2 separate regions of the Homo sapiens genome follow, and region 2 is linked to region 1. Evidence: promoter capture Hi-C in 16 types of primary human blood cells and fetal thymus (Javierre and others, 2016). All regions are on one chromosome and are shown on one strand. The core of a region is centred on a gene start or on the middle of the fragment in contact, and the rest is flanking DNA. Distances in the headings are between cores, read along the strand shown.

Region 1 (7,781 bases), core at 3,296-5,795:
CTGGGATTACAGGCGTGAGCCACCGCGCCTGGCCAGTTTTTTTTTTTTTTTTTTTTTTTGAGACAGAGTCTCGTTCTGTCACCCAGGCTGGAGTGCAATGGCACAATCTCATCTCACTGCAACCTCCGTCTCGTGGGTTAAAGCAATTCTCCTGCCTCAACCTCCCAAGTAGCTGAGATTACAGGCCCCCCACCACCACGCCTGGCTAATTTTTTTGTACTTTTAGTAGAGACGGGGTTTCACTATGTTGGCCAGGCTGGTCGCGAACTCCTGACCTCCTGACCTGCCAGCCTTGGCCTCCCAAAGTGCTGGGATTACAGGCGTGAGCCACCGCGCCTGGCCAGTTTTTTTTTTTTTTTTTTTTTTTTTTTAAGACATAGTTTTGCTCTGTTGCCCAGGCTGGAGTGAAGTGGCATGATCTTGGCTCACTGCAACCTCCGCCTTCCGGGTTCAAGTGATTCTCCTGCCTCAGCCTCCTGAGTAGCTAGGATTACAGGTGCCCGCCACCACGCCCAGATAATTTTTGTATATTTAGTAGAGACGAGGTTTCACCATGTTGTCCAGGTTGGTCTCGAACTCCTGACCTCAGGTGATCCACCTGCCTCGGCCTCCCAAAGTGCTGGGATTACAGGAGTGAGCCACCCTGCCCGGCCATATTTAGGTACTGTTAATTTTGTAAAATATCCAGGTGTGGTGGCATGTGTCTATGGTCACTGCTTGTCAGGAAGCTGAGTCAGGAGGATTAGTTTAATGCTGCACTGTTCCCCAGTCTGGACTAGGTAGGAAGATCTTGTCTCTAAAAATAAAGAAAAATAAATAAATTTTAAAATAATCAAAAAGTAGAAATGAAGGCCGGGCATGGTTGCTCAGGCCTGTAATCAATCCCAGCACTGTGTGAGAGGTCAAAGTGGGCAGATTGCTGGAGCCCAGGAGTTTAAGACCAGCCTGGGCAACATAGTGAGAATTTGTGTCTACAAACTAACACTAAAATTAGCCAGGCATGGTGGCACGGGCCTGTGGTCCCGGCTACTCAGGAGGCTGAGGTAAGAGGATTGCTTTAACCCGGGAGGTAGAGGTTGCAGTGAGCTGAGATCACGCTAGTACATTCCAGCCTGGATGACAGAGTGAGGCTCTGTCTCCAAAAAAATAAAAAATTAAACAAATAGAAGTGAAAATTAAGGTACTGAAAAGAAAACTTGATAAACAACATAAGTCTCCTTTGCCTCTGCATGACCTCATTGGTCTAGCTATATTCCCATTTATACTTAGTTTTCCATGAGGGAAATAACAATTGCTTAGCTACCTTTGGAGGAGGAAAAAGTGTCTGGAAGTACTAATGTACCTGGCAGAACATTACCAGAGGGAAGAAGCAGAGTAGAAAGTTTTTTTTTTTTGTTTTGTTTTTGAGACGAAGTCTCGCTCTTGTCCCCCAGATTGGAGTGCAGTGGTGCGATCTCGGCTCACTGCAACCTCTGCCTCCCAGGTTCAAGCAATTCTCCTGCCTCAGCCTCCCGAGTAGCAGGGATTGCAGGTACATACCACCACGCCCGGCTAATTTTTTGTATTTTAAGTAGAGACGGGGTTTCACCATGTTGGCCAGGCTGGTCTTGAACTCCTGACCTCAGGTAATCCACCCGCCTCGGCCTCTCAAAGTGTGGGGATTACAGGCATGAGCCACCGCGCCCAGCCTTTTTTTTTTGAAGATAGAGTCTCACGCTGTCACCCAGGCTGGAGTGCAGTGGCGCGATCTCAGCTCACTGCAGCCTCCACCTCCCAGGTTCAAGCAATTCTCATGCCTCAGCCTCCCGAGTACCTGGGATTACAGGCATGTGCCAGCATGCCCAGCTAATTTTGTATTTTTAATAGAGATGGAGTTTCTCCATGTTGGTCAGGCTGGTCTTGATTTCCTGACCTCAGATGATCTGCCCACCTCGACCTCCCAAAGTGCTGGGATTACAGGTGTGAGCCACCAAACCCAGCCCACACCCAGCTAATTTGTGTGATTTTAGTAGAGATGGGGTTTCACTGTGTTGGCAAGGCTGGTCTTTAACTCCTGACCTCACGTGATCTGCCTGCCTTGGCCTCCTAAAATGTTGGGATTATAGGCATGAGCCACTGCATCTGGCCCTCAGAGTGGAATGTTCTTTAGATCACATATTATTGCTGTACTCAGTTTCCATGGCTGAGGAAATAGTGCTGTCAATTAAATCAATAGGGAATGGCACTTCCTCTTGAGGGAACAATTAGTAAACCTTCAACCAATTGTCCTTTTCCAGTCATTTAGTGTCTGTATATGAATTCCAACATCATTGCTGCCAGCAGCTAAAATTATGATTCCATATCTGAAGTCACCTTTGCAAAAAGTATAACATAAGTCTACCTTGTCTCAGAGTGACCCCATCAACCTAGCCATGTTTTCATCTTTGTACAGTCTTCCATAAGGGAAGTAATTGCTTAGCCACATTTGGAGGAGGAAAAAGTGGCAGTGGAAGTAGTAACGTGCCTGGCAGGACTTCACTGCAGAGAAGAAGCAGAGTGGGAACTTCTTTAGATCACATATCATTGCTATACTCAGTCTCCATGGCTCAGGAAATAGTGCTTTCAGGTAAATTAGTAAGGAGTGCCACTTCCACCTGATGGAGCAGTTAGTAAATCCTCAACCAATTATCCTGTTCCAGTGATTTAGTTGCTGTATAAGAGTTCCAACATAAATGTTGCCAGGAGCTAAAAGTATGACTCTACATCTGAAAACCCTTTTGCAAGAATTATAACAGTGAGAAAATTATGACAGTGAAAGAGATCAGATCTAAGCGAACTCCATCTTTTCTTTAGCCTCCAAGCTACCCTTGTTCATTCCCGGGTATAGGTCTTACTAATATTGGAAGGAGTTTAGTTTAGCTTTAAAGCAAAAGTCATAACTGCCGCTTCCGTAAAGAAATTGTCTCCTTGCTTGGGAACCAGATTGCCTTTGTAAAACTAAGAAATTAGCCACAAGATTAGAAATTATGGTTCAGGAAATATGCGGCCAGAGTACACAAGATTCCCAACCTTCTCACTTGCTCCTGTGGATAATATTATTGTTGTAAGACCTAAGATTGGTGTTTGAGGTATTTTTGAGACCCTTCATTCTGATAAATTTGCTGGCATCACACAGACCAATAAACTGGCTCACCTGCTCCAGTGGCCCCTAGCCAAGAACTGACTCAGTGCAAGAAGACAGCTGAGACTTCCTGTGATATCCTTTTCGCGACCAATCAGCATTCCCCATTTTCCAGCCTTCTGCTCACCAAATTATCTTTAAAACCCTAGCCTCGGCCGGGTGCGGGGGCTCAGGCCTGTAATCCCAGCACTTTGGGAGGCCGAGGCGGGTGGATCATGAGGTCAGGAGTTTGAGACCAGCCTGACCAACATGGTAAACCCCGTCTCTACTAAAAATACAAAAATTAGCCGGGCATGGTGGCGCATGCCTGTAATCCCAGCTACTCAGGAGGTTGAGGCAGGAGAATCGCTTGAACCCGGGAGGCGGAGGTTGCACTGAGCCGAGATTGCGCCACTGCACTCCAGCATGGGCGACAGAGAGATTCCGTCTCAAAAAAAAACCAAAAAAACAAAACCTAGCCTCCCATTTTTTAGGGAGACAGAATTGAATAAAAATAAAACTCTTCTCTTTCATTTAGCCGGCTCTATGTATATTAAACTCCACTGCAATTCCCTGTCTTTTTTTTTTTTTTTTTTTTCGGAGACAGGGTCTCACTCTGACATCCAGGCTGGTAAAATCACAGCTCACTGTGGCCTCGACCTCTCTGGGCTCAGGCGATCCTCTCATTTCAGCCTTCCGAGTAGCTGGGACTGCAAACATGTACCACCACGCCCGACTAATTTTTGTATTTTTTGTAGAGGCGGGGTTTTGCTATGTTACCCAGGCTGGGCTTAAGTTCCTAGGCTCAAGCAATCTGCCTGCCTTGGCTTCCCAAAGTGGTGGGGTTACAGGCATGAGCTACCCCCACCCCCCCAGCCCACCGCCGGACGAGCTAAAGTTTCTATTCAACAGTACTCTATGGCAGGGGTCCCCAACCCCCGGTCCATGGCCTGTAAGGAACCAGTCCGCACAGCAGGAGGTGAGCGGCTGGCGGGCGAGCCAGCGGGCATTATCGCCAGAGATATGCTTCCTGTCAGATCAGCAGAGGCATTAGTCTGTCATAGGAGCCCGAACCCTATTGTGAGCTGCACATGCGAGGGATCTAGGTTGGGTTCGCCTTATGAGGATAAAATGCCTGATCTGAGGTGGAAGTTTCATTCCGAAACTATCTGCCCCCGTAGGAGAACTGTCTTCCACGAAACCGGTTCTGGTGCTAAAAAGGTTACAGACCTCTGGCTTAAAGAATCTATCGCTGGATCCGGTCAAACCCGTTTTCAGAGCCCCGTTACCAAGGGCTTCTATTGTCACTCACGGCTGAGGGGGCGGGGCCCGGCGCTTCGTCCAATCAGGGGCGCTGGGCGGGGCCTGCCGAGTGTCCATCGGGGAGGGCGAAGGCCCTGCTCTCCTCGGTTCCCGGCTCCAGGCGGCGAGCTGAGGTTGGGAGCCTGGCTTTCCCCTCCGAGAGGGTTCAGGTGCCTCTGCCATAGCTTCTGTCGCCTGTGCTGTGACCCGCACTGGTCGTGGGAGTCACCTGAAAGGCAAGAAATGGTGAGCGTGCGGGCCAGGGGTCCCGAGGCGGGGGAGGAGCTGGTTGGAACCGGCCGGAACCGGCTGTGGTGGGACCCGGGCCTCCCCGCGGCGACTCCGGGGTCTGGGACCCGATTTCCCGTGGGACAGCTCGGCCCTTGGTCCCCTTGGCCCCACAGTGGGGCTGGGCCGGCCGCCGGGACCCGGGCGTCTCGTCCTGTCCCTGCGCGGTGACTGTCACCCAGTTCCCAGAGCCCTCTCTGGGCAGCTCCGCGCCCGCTGCCCCGCGTCTCCCCACATTGTGCGGGGACTACGCGAGGGTCATGGGGGGATCCCGCCTCGGGTGTGGGGGTTTGTGTAGGAGGAGGGTGGGCTGTGGGGTCCCCAGTAGCGCCTTTCTCCTCTTAAAAATTAAACTGAGACACGTTAACAATTATAGTTTTGCTTCTCAGAATAGGTTTTAAAAAATATATTAATAATTAGAGTTCCTTTGAGATTCCTGAATGATAAACACCCAGTCCTGGCTTGTAATTTGTTAACGGAAAATGCCAAGCTGTGTAAAATAACTTAAAGAAGTTTATTCAGAGCCGAATAGGAGAGGCCTCAGCTGAGGAAAACACAACCCCAGGAGGCCTGAAGTAAGTGGTCCCGAGGCGGCTCAAGACTGTTTTTATTCATTTCAGGGAGACAGGAATTGCAGGGAGAATCATGCATCAATGCCTGGAAAGGTGTAAGTTCCTTTGGCAGAAAGGGCGGGACCTGTGGAAGGGGGGTTAGAAGGTGCAGGTGGTTGAGGGATTCTGAAGGTGGCCGTTGGTGGAGAGTGTGAAGCTTTGTCTAAAACTTCGAGGCGGTAGGAAGGATTGCTTAAGTGAAGAGGGTCTGGTATCTGTCATATGATTTCATCCCACCCAAAACAAAAGACCTGTTTCTTTAGATTTTGTGAATTCTAAGATTTGACTTACCTCTTGCCTTGCATGGCCTTAGGTCTTGTTTGTAATTTGGTTTCTTATTGTCACAGAGAGTCTGTGTTTCCAGTTGGCTGATGTCTGTTTTAACATGAAGGTGGGTCAGTGGCTATGTGGAAACTCCTAAAGGAAGCGGGTATAATGAGGCCTGTCCAGGTATAGTGAAGCCTGTCTGATGGTTAATCTGTAGTCAAGTGTGGGAGGGTTCCAGCTGGCTCTTTCCAGTGTCAGGTGACTCAATTCCAGAGTCACATTACTTTAAACTTCAAGATAATTTAGAGTTCCAACAGCTTCAATTTTTGAATTACTTATTTTCACAGACCATACAGTGGAAAATTTTTGGTTGTATAATCAGAGGTTACTCGACCAATTGTACCTGGTTAAGCCCATATTTCATTTCCCAATAAATTAGTAACTTGTTATTGTTTTCTCAGGCCACATACCGTCACATAAGTTAGTACTTTATATGAATAGCATTTGAATTTGATTTCCATGTTCTTGGCCAAGATCTTAGAGTACTATAGGCATTAAGTTTAATTACTTCTTATTCAAAATTTTCAACACTCCCCAGTTAACTGGTACTTCTCTGCATTTTCCAAATATATGGGAAGTGAGATCTCAAACCCTCCACCCTGTGACCCTGGCCTACCTCTGGAGAGCTTGCAGTACAATACTAAAATTTCAGTTCCTTTCTAAAATTTGCAGACACCAACTCTCCTTCTTCAATTTGTAGTATCAACTATTTGTTTTTGTTTTTGTTTTTTTTTGGAGACAGAGTCTTGTTCTGTCACCCAGGCTGGAGTGCAGTGGCGCGATCTCTACTCACTGCAAGCTCCGCCTCCCGGGTTCACGCCATTCTCCTGACTCAGCCTCCCAAGTAGCTGGGACTACAGGAGCCCGTCACCACGCCTGGCTAATTTTTTGTATTTTTAGTAGAGACGGGGTTTCACTGTGTTAGCCAGGATGGTCTTGATCTCCTGACCTTGTGATCCACCCGCCTTGGCCTCCCAAAGTGCTGGGATTACAGGTGTGAGTCACTGCGCCTGGCCCGTTTTTTGTTTTTGTTTTTTTGAGACGGAGTCTCGCTCTGTCGCCCAGGCTGGAGTGTAGTGGCACAATCTCTGCTCACTGCAAGCTCCACCTCCCGGGTTCATGCCATTCTCCTGCCTCAGCCTCGTAAATGAAAATGCACTGGCCAGGTGCAGTGGCTCATGCCTATAATCCCAACACTTTGGGAGGTTGAGGTGGGTAGATCACTTGAGGCCAGGAGTTTGAGACCAGCCTGGCCAATATGGTGAAACCTTGGCTCTACTAGAAATACAAAAGAAATCAGCCAGGTGTGATGGCACACACCTGTAGTCCCAGCTACTCCAGAGGCTGAGGCCTGAGAATTGCTTGGACCTGGGAGGTGGATTCTGCAATGAGCGGACATCGCACCACTGCACTCCAGCCTGGGCAAGTGAGTGAGACTCTGTCTCAAGAGAGGGGAAAAAAAAAAAAGGAAATGCACTTGGGGCACACAGGGGCACAGTGCAGTGTTGTTGGAAAATAGTCACTCAGCACTTCAGTGAGCAGGATGGGCACAGAGAAATGTCCCATGTGATAGGATGGCCTGACACTTGAGTCAAACATCACTGTGTTCTTTCTAGTCAGCATTGCCCCTCTGTGGGTTTGTCTTTTTGTAAATAATTGTTCACTTATTGCAGCTTCAGGTTTTTTATTAATTGTAATTTGCATTTTTCACTAGACCTTGCAAAATAAGAAAATTTTACACACAGGCCAGAAAGAGGTAGATTTCAGAAAAATGGCTGGATGCAGTGGCTCACACCTGTAATCCCAGCACTTTGAGAGGCCAAGGCAGGTGGATCACCTGAGGTCAGGAGTTCAAGACCAACCTGGCCAACATGATGAAACCCTGTTTCAACTAAGAATACAAAAGTTAGCTGAGTATAGTGGTGCATGCCTATAATCCCAACTACTAGGGAGACTGAGGCACGAGAATCCCTTGAACCTGGGAGGTGGAGGCTGCAGTGAGCTGACATTGCACCACTGTATTCCAGCCTGCACTACAGGGCGAGTCTCCATCTCAAAAAAAAAAAAAAAATCGCTATTTAGTCTTATATTCCATTTCTTAATATGTTTTTTTC
Region 2 (7,781 bases), core at 3,761-6,260, 150 kb before region 1:
CTGTGGTAGTATTTATTACCACAATTTATTACACCCTGCTTGACAACAGGGACGTCCCTGATAGTCCTTGGAAAGAAATCACTCACAACATGATTTGACTTTTGGTATTATGCATATGAAAAACTACTATCATCATAAAAGTTGTAATCAAATAAGCATGAAAACTAAAATTTATGAGGAAAAAAAGGCCTGAAGTTGTAAGCTCACAGTAATATTGACTCACAATGTTGGACAAATAGCTTAATTATAAAGTTTATCGGATCCATGATTGGAATGGGATATTTTAATATATATTCTCAATAAATACAAAACTCACCAGACAGTATGCAAGTTGCTTGCATACTGTTAATATTTCTAAGAAATGTGTAGAGAACTTTTGTTTGAGGAGGACATGTATATTGTTTGTAATCATATGTACTCAAACATAATTCAAAATAAACTGAGGGACTGCATTCAGCTATGAGTAACAGGAAACACCCACAATGTTTCTATAATGAATAAGGTGCTTATTCTCACATGAAAGAACGGGGTGAGACCCATCTCTGCATAATGCAGCAGAGGAACAAGCTCCATGTAGGGTTTTTCGTTTTGTTTTTGGATAGTGCCATTGTAGCTCTCAACCTGCATCAGTAACACTCACTGTCCCTATGGACAAAAATGTTTATGTACAAACTGGACCGTACAGGAACCAAGTCAGATCATCAGACTATTCCCAACAATGACAATATGAACTGATTACTTGGCAGATATATTAGGGCCTTCAGGAATATCCAAATGGCAGCTGAATCTTTGATATGAAGCTTTTAAAAACATCTATGGAAATCCATAACTTTGAGAACATGGAGGTGAAGTAGCTAGTGGTGGATTAGAGGATACTCTTTTTTTTTTTTTTTTTTTTTTTTTTGAGACAGGGTCTTACTCTGTACTCTGTCACCCAGGCTGGAGTGCAGTGGCATGATCTTGGCTCACTGCAACCTTCACCTCCCTGGCTCAAGCGATTCTCCTGCCTCAGCTGGGACTATAAGCACGCGACACCACACCCAGCTAATTTTTGTATTTTTAGTAGAGATGGGGTTTCACCATGTTGACCACGCTGGTCTCGAACTCCTCACCTCAGGTGATCCGACCGCCTTGGCCTCCCAAAGTGCTAGAATTACAGGTGTGAGCCAGCACACCCGGCTGAGGATACTCTTGATTGGCAGGGCAAAGAATCAGGAAAATGGGCTAGATGACCATGTCCAAACAGCCCATATGCATCTGTCTCTCCGTATGATGCCTCCAAAATCTGACTAATGCGTTCTTCACTTCTGCATTCTAAACTTCCAGGAATTTAGGCTATTGATGCAGTCTACAGGTAACCATGAAAGAAAGAAATTCTGGGCCAGGCACAGTGGCTTATGCCTGTAATCCTAGTGCTTTAAGAGGCTGAGGCTAGAGGGTGACTTGAGGCCAGGAGTTTGAGACCAGTCTGGGCAACATAGCAAGACACCATCTCTACAAAAAAAAAAAAAGATGAAAAACCAAAAATAAAAAGATTAGCTGGGCTTGGTGGCACATACCTATAGTTCCAGCCATTTGGGAGGCTGAGGTCGGAAGGCCACCTGAGCTCCAGAGTTTGAGGTTACAGTGAGCCACAGTCGTGCCACTGCACTCCAGCCTGAGTGACAGAGTGAGACCCTATTTCAGAAAGAAAGAAAGAAATGAAGTCTGAAAAGTTTAGTTCCCATTACCCAGATTGACATGACACAATCCATGAAAGGCATCTCCCATTTTAGATTTTATTATTCTATCATAGCTGTCTCCTTATCCCAAAATCAATTATACAAAGAGCAGCCAGAATAAATAACAAGGAGTAAAGAACAACAGGTTAAAATAATAATTCACGAGACTACAGTCTGTGATAAACTTTACATACTTAGAATTAACAACAACTCTTTAATAGGAAGCAAAATAAAATTATTTGAGCCAAGAAAAAAAAAATGGGCTAGGTGTGATGGCTCACACGTGTAATCCCAGACTTTAGGAGGCTGAGGTGGGTGGATCACTTGAGGTCAGGAGTTCTACCAGCCTGGCCAACATGGTGAAACCCCATCTCTACTAGAAATACAAAAAATTAGCCAGGTGTGGTGGCACATGCCTGTAGTCCCAGCTTCCTAGGAGGCTAAGGTGGGAGAATCACTTGAACCCAGAAGGCAGAGGTTGCAATGAGCCGAGATCATGCCACTGTACTCCAGCTTGGGCAACAGAGCACAGAGCGAGACCCTGTCTCAAAAAGAAAAAAGAAGAAAGAAAAAAGAAAAAAGGAAAAAAAAGGAGCTGTTCCAATAAATATGATGGAATGTATATAATGTGGAAAGGGAATCAAGAACCTGCTAAATGAAGCAAGTAGGTTCATACCAACATTTATTAAGACTTATTTTTCAGTGGTCCTCAATCACAGAACAATTAAGCAACCATATACAATTTAACATACCTGAATATGAGAAACACATTTAAATTCATTGTTGGATTAAACACATTTCAAAATGGAAAGACAAATATTTTATTTACTGACCTAAAACAACACTACCTATGAAATTCATGCACTATTGCTTTCAGATTACTTACAGGATTATATCAATTTAACATTTCTTTGTGAGATTAAGCATTTGAAATCCATAGTCAGAGAACTATTTTAAATATGAGCCACTAATTAACAAAATATACATATAGCTTCTACATTTCCATCAGGTTATGTATTTTCTAGAGACTACATGACCCGCTATGCATGAGGCTTTTTGAAGTACTTACATTTATAGGATTTTGCTGTATTAGAAGTTTTCAAATGACTTTTTTTTTTTTTCTGAGATGAGGTCTTGCTATGTTTTGCACACTGGTCTCAAACTCCTGACCTCAAGTGATCCTCCTGCCTCAGCCTCCCAAAGTGCTGGGATTACAGGTGTGAGCCACCACACCCAGCCAGAGCCAAAACATCTGTTCAAATTCAATACCTCAACTAGTGAGGCCCTGCTGGGATTGAAATCCAGCATCTCCTGTTTGCCAGACAAGTACTTTAACCCACAAAGCCACAGAGCCAGAGCCCTCAAATGACTTTAAAAGTATAATGGAAAACCTTCCTTGTAGTTTTCACATTTATAGTGTTTTGATCCAGGGTACATTCTTACATGTTGTTGAAAGCATGTGGGCTGGCTAAAAACGTGTGGACATTGCTTATATTCAAGAGCTTTCTCTTTTGTGTGTTCTTTCATGGCTTCAAGTGGAACTAAAATGACTAAAGGCTCTCCCACACTCTTTACATTTACCAAGGTTCTCTCCACTACACATTCATGTGTGACAGGGTTGTGTGATGACAAAACCTTTCCTACACCCTTTACCCAGGGTTTCTCTCAAATATGGGTTCCTTTCCAAAAAGCATTTGTTTGGTTTTCTCCATGATGAGTTCTTTCATGTATTTGAAAGGAACTAAAATGATTGAAAGCTTTCCCATGTTACTTACATGTATATGGCTTCTCTCTAGAATTCTTTCATGTATTAAAAAAGGCACTGACAGAATTTCATGCTTTCCCACGTTACTTACATTCATAGGGCTTCTCTTCAGTGAGTATTTTAATGTATCTGACATGAACCCAGAGCATTAAAGGCTTTCCCACATGCATTTATAAGGTGGTCCATCTTCAGCATGTGTTAACATGTGTCTCTGAAAGCTGGCACGGCAAGAATAGGCTTTCCCACATTCCTTGCAATGATAGGGTTTCTGTCCAGTGTGAGTCCTTTCATGTAGTCGAAAGGAACTAGAAGATCTAAAGGCTTTACCACATCGCTTACATTCAAAGGGTTTCTCACCAGTGTGAATCATTTCATGTGTTCGAAAGGAGTTGAGATAACTGAAGGCTTTCCCACATTGCTTACACTCATAGGGTTTCTCTCCAGTATGAGTTCTTTCATGTATTCGAATTGATGTTGAAGAAACGAAAGCTTTACCACAATGTTTACATACATAAGGTTTCTCTCCAGTGTGAGTTCTTTCATGTATTCGAAATGGACTCAGAGAATGAAAGGGTTTCCCACATACCTTACATTTATAAGGTCCTTCTCCAGTATGTTTTATCATGTGTCTTCGCATACTTGGGATACAACTGAATGCTTCCCCACATTCCTTACATTCATAAGGTTTTTCTCCAGTGTGAGTCCTTTCATGTATTTGAAAGGTACTGGCAGATCTAAAGGCTTTACCACATTGTTTACATACGAAGGGTTTCTCACCAGTGTGAATTCTTTCATGTAGTCGAAGGGAGGGGAGATAACTGAAGGCCTTCCCACACTGCTTGCATTCATAAGGTTTCTCTCCAGTATGGGTTCTTTCATGTATTCGTAAGGTTGGGGAACAACTGAAGGCTTTACCACATTGCTTACATTTAAAGGGTTTTTCTCCAGTGTGAATTCTTTCATGCACTTGAAATGAACTCAGAGAATGAAAGGGTTTCCCACATACCTTACATTTATAAGGTCCATCTCCAGTGTGCTTTATCATGTGTCTTCGAACACTTGTGATACAAGTGAAGGCTTTTCCACATTCCTGACATTCATAGGGTTTCTCTCCAGTGTGACTTCTTTCATGTGTTCGAAATCTACTGGGATAATCAAAAGCTTTCCCACACACCTTACATTTATATGGTGTATATCCACTGTGTGTGATGATGTGTCTTCTAATTCTTTTGAGAGAAAAGAAGGTTTTTCCACATTCCTTACAATCATAGAGTTTCTCTCCAGTGTGAATTATCTCATGTGTTCGAAAGGAGTGGTGAGAACTGAAGGGTTTCCAACACTGGTTACGTGTATCTGGCTTCTCTCCATATTCCTGATATTCCTTTGGTTCATGTCCACTGTGATCTTTGATGTGTCTATTAAGGGATGACTGACCCATGCTGACTTCTCCATATACAATGCTTTCACAGAGTTTCACTCCAGGGATTTTCTTGCTCAGATTCTGATTTGCAAACTGGCTAAAAATTCCTCCACGCTGACTACCATCCTTAGTTTGATAGAGTCTTTCTAACATATGACTTCTGTAAAAAATGAGACGGACATTACTAAGGATTTGTTAATCATTTTATATTAATAGCTATTAAACTTGCATTTTCAATATTATCAGGTAAAGCGTAGACTCGATGCCAAGTCTGATTTGTTTGAGCATGAATGAATTCAATGCTCTGCAATGGGCTTGACCGCAACTATCACTCAAACAGTGATATTCTTAAATAGTTTCTTAATTCTGTTGACAAATGAACATTTTTATAAAAACTGAACATCTGTTTACACTGAAGAATATGTATTTGGGGAAAATATTCAAAAAATAAATCAATTTGAAGCTTGGCTTATCAGTTATGTTTGCCTGTTTTTAAAATTTCATGACATGCTAAGGTACTTTCAAGTGAATTTGCTTTCTCTGAGTACAAATTACCTTAGATTTCTCCCTCGGTGTTTGTAGTGATCTTTAATGTTCTGGTCCTTCCATTTTTTCCCTAAAACAGAGACCCAGAAAAATTCTGAATTAGTGCAAAATTATAGAAAAATTATTAGATTCTAGGTTCATGATACCCTGTGACTATGCCTGTTTTAGCCCCCCAAGTACTCTCCCTCCATGATGCAAACCATGGAACAGCATCACTGCACAAGAAGCACTTCTTCTTTAATTGCTAAGTGATGGAAGTATACAATCCTTACCTATAGAGGCCAGATTCCTCATGGTTTCCCACATCACATCTCTGTAGAGATTCTTCTGGGAAGGATCTAGCAAAGCCCACTCCTCCTGGGTGAAGTTCACATCTACATCCTCAAAAGCCACCGAGTCCTGAAACATCCCACATATGTGGAGAGGAGAATGGGTGAGACAGACAGGGCTGGGGAGCTGTACTCAATTCATAAGAAGTTCACATGTTTCAGGGGTCTGCAAACATTTACTCCACTGTTTGGTCATCATACTCACTTCCTTCCACACAGCAACTCTCATACTAGAATGGAACTATCGGGTAGAACAATAGCAGTGTCTGATCATCTTTCTTGGTGGTGGTTGCAAGGAGTAATACGTGCTGCCTGAGTCCCAGCTAATGTCTGCTCATACAGTGGACCTGTAGAACCTGTCATAACGAAGTCCTACCACCTACTATGCAAAAGAGTTTATATTAGCAGTCCTGAGACTGCTTACCCTTAAAAAAAGGCTCCTCACTCCTCACAACATTCATCTGAGGTAGGAGACCAACAGGACTTGTATTCTGATCACAACCCTACTGGCCAAAACAAGATCTGGCACAGGTAGGATAAAGTAAAGAAAGGGGCCAAAACCAGCAGACGACAAGAACAGCGATCTCTAGATGCTCTCACTGCTCATTAGCATAAAACACTCCCACCAATGCTATGACAGCTTACAAATGCCATGGCAATGACCTGAAAGTTATCATTCCTTCCTTAGAAAGTTTTAAATAACCCACCACTTAATTTGCATATAATTGAAAGTGGGTATAAATATAGTTGCCAAGAGACCATATGTTGCTGACTCTGGGTGTACTGCCTATGAGTTAGCACTGATCCACAAAGACCAGTACTGTTAAATAAAACACTGTTATCTAACACCACTGGCCTGCCCTTGAATTCTTCCCTGGGCAAAGCTGGAAACCATCCTGGGATAAGCCCCAATTTTAGGGCGCACCTGTCCTGCATCACATCCATTCCTGGTATCTGGGAAACGGATTTGGGGAAGGAGCCCAATGACCTATGTAAGAGTAGCTCGGTGCCTAAACTCTTTATGGAAAAAATATGAAAATTTCTGGCGTCCCACCTTCTGAGAGTTTGGGAATTTGTTACACGCGCAACACATAGTGCCCACCTGATGAGCCCCCAGAAACACTCCAGGAAGCATTTCGCATGTGTTCTCACAATTGGTTACTGGGAAAATTAAGCCCATCTTCTGTTATTATACTAAGAGAGAATACTTGCAAGCTTGTACCTATCCTGCAGATCAAATATAATTAAGTACTAAATGAGACTAATGAAGGATTTTTTACCTTTTTTTTTTTTTTTTTAGACGGAGTCTGGCTCTCTGTTGCCCAGGCTGGAGCGGCGTGATCTCGGCTCACTGCAAGCTCCGCTTCCCGGGTTCATGCCATTCTCCTGCCTCAGCCTCCTGAGTAGCTGGGACTACAGGCACCTGCCACCACGCCTGACTAATTTTTTGTATTTTTTAGTACAGACAGGGTTTCACCATGTTAGCCAGGATGGTCTCAATCTCCTGACCTCGTGATCTGCCCACCTCGGCCTCCCAAAGTGCTGGGATTACAGGCGTGAGCCACCACACCCAGCCCTCTTTTTTTTTTTGGATGGAGTCTTGCTCTGTCGCCCAGGCTGGAGTGCAGTGGCAGGGTCTTGGGTCACTGCAACCTCTGCCTCCCAGGCTCAAGGGATTATCCCGCCTCAACCTCCCGAGGAGGTGGGAGTACAGGCACGTGCCACCACACCCAGCTAATTTTTGTATGTTTAATAGAGATGGGGTTTCACCATGTTGGCCAGGCTGGACCCAAACTCCTGACCGCAAGTATCTGCCAGCCTTGGCCTCCCGAAGTGCTGGGATTACAGGCGTGAGCCACCACACCCAGCTTGATGAATCTTCACTAAATTGGTGAAAATAAATTGGTGAATTCACCAATTTATCTACCTACTTTCTCATCAAAATGTATCAGTGGCCGGGTGAACTGGCTCACACCTGTAATTCCATCACATTGGGAGGT

Evidence for each region. The method cuts DNA at HindIII sites, captures the fragments that hold promoters and counts their contacts. A CHiCAGO score of 5 or more calls a contact.
Region 2: a contact is called between a fragment that was not itself captured here and the fragment with the promoter of ZNF433 in region 1, in 1 of 17 cell types (erythroblasts). The highest score is 6.4, in erythroblasts.

The regions. Positions count from the first base shown.
Region 1 is chr19:12,032,443-12,040,223 of GRCh38, reverse strand. It overlaps ZNF433 (zinc finger protein 433), which reads left to right and starts at 4,545. Exons shown (of 4, transcript NM_001308348.2): 1 at 4,545-4,687. The coding sequence starts at 4,685. It overlaps ZNF433-AS1 (ZNF433 and ZNF878 antisense RNA 1), which reads right to left. Exons shown (of 3, transcript NR_134929.1): 2 at 4,452-4,670. RefSeq lists silencers at 4,431-4,590, 4,831-4,880, 4,891-5,010. The HindIII fragment of the contact is 7,472 bases long and covers 1-5,499 here.
Region 2 is chr19:12,183,855-12,191,635 of GRCh38, reverse strand. It overlaps ZNF136 (zinc finger protein 136), which reads right to left. Exons shown (of 4, transcript NM_003437.5): 2 at 5,725-5,851; 3 at 5,462-5,522; 4 at 1,765-5,066. The coding sequence ends at 3,635. Among named protein-coding and RNA genes, the nearest start is that of ZNF136, 25 kb to the right of the region's middle. The HindIII fragment of the contact is 722 bases long and covers 4,650-5,371 here.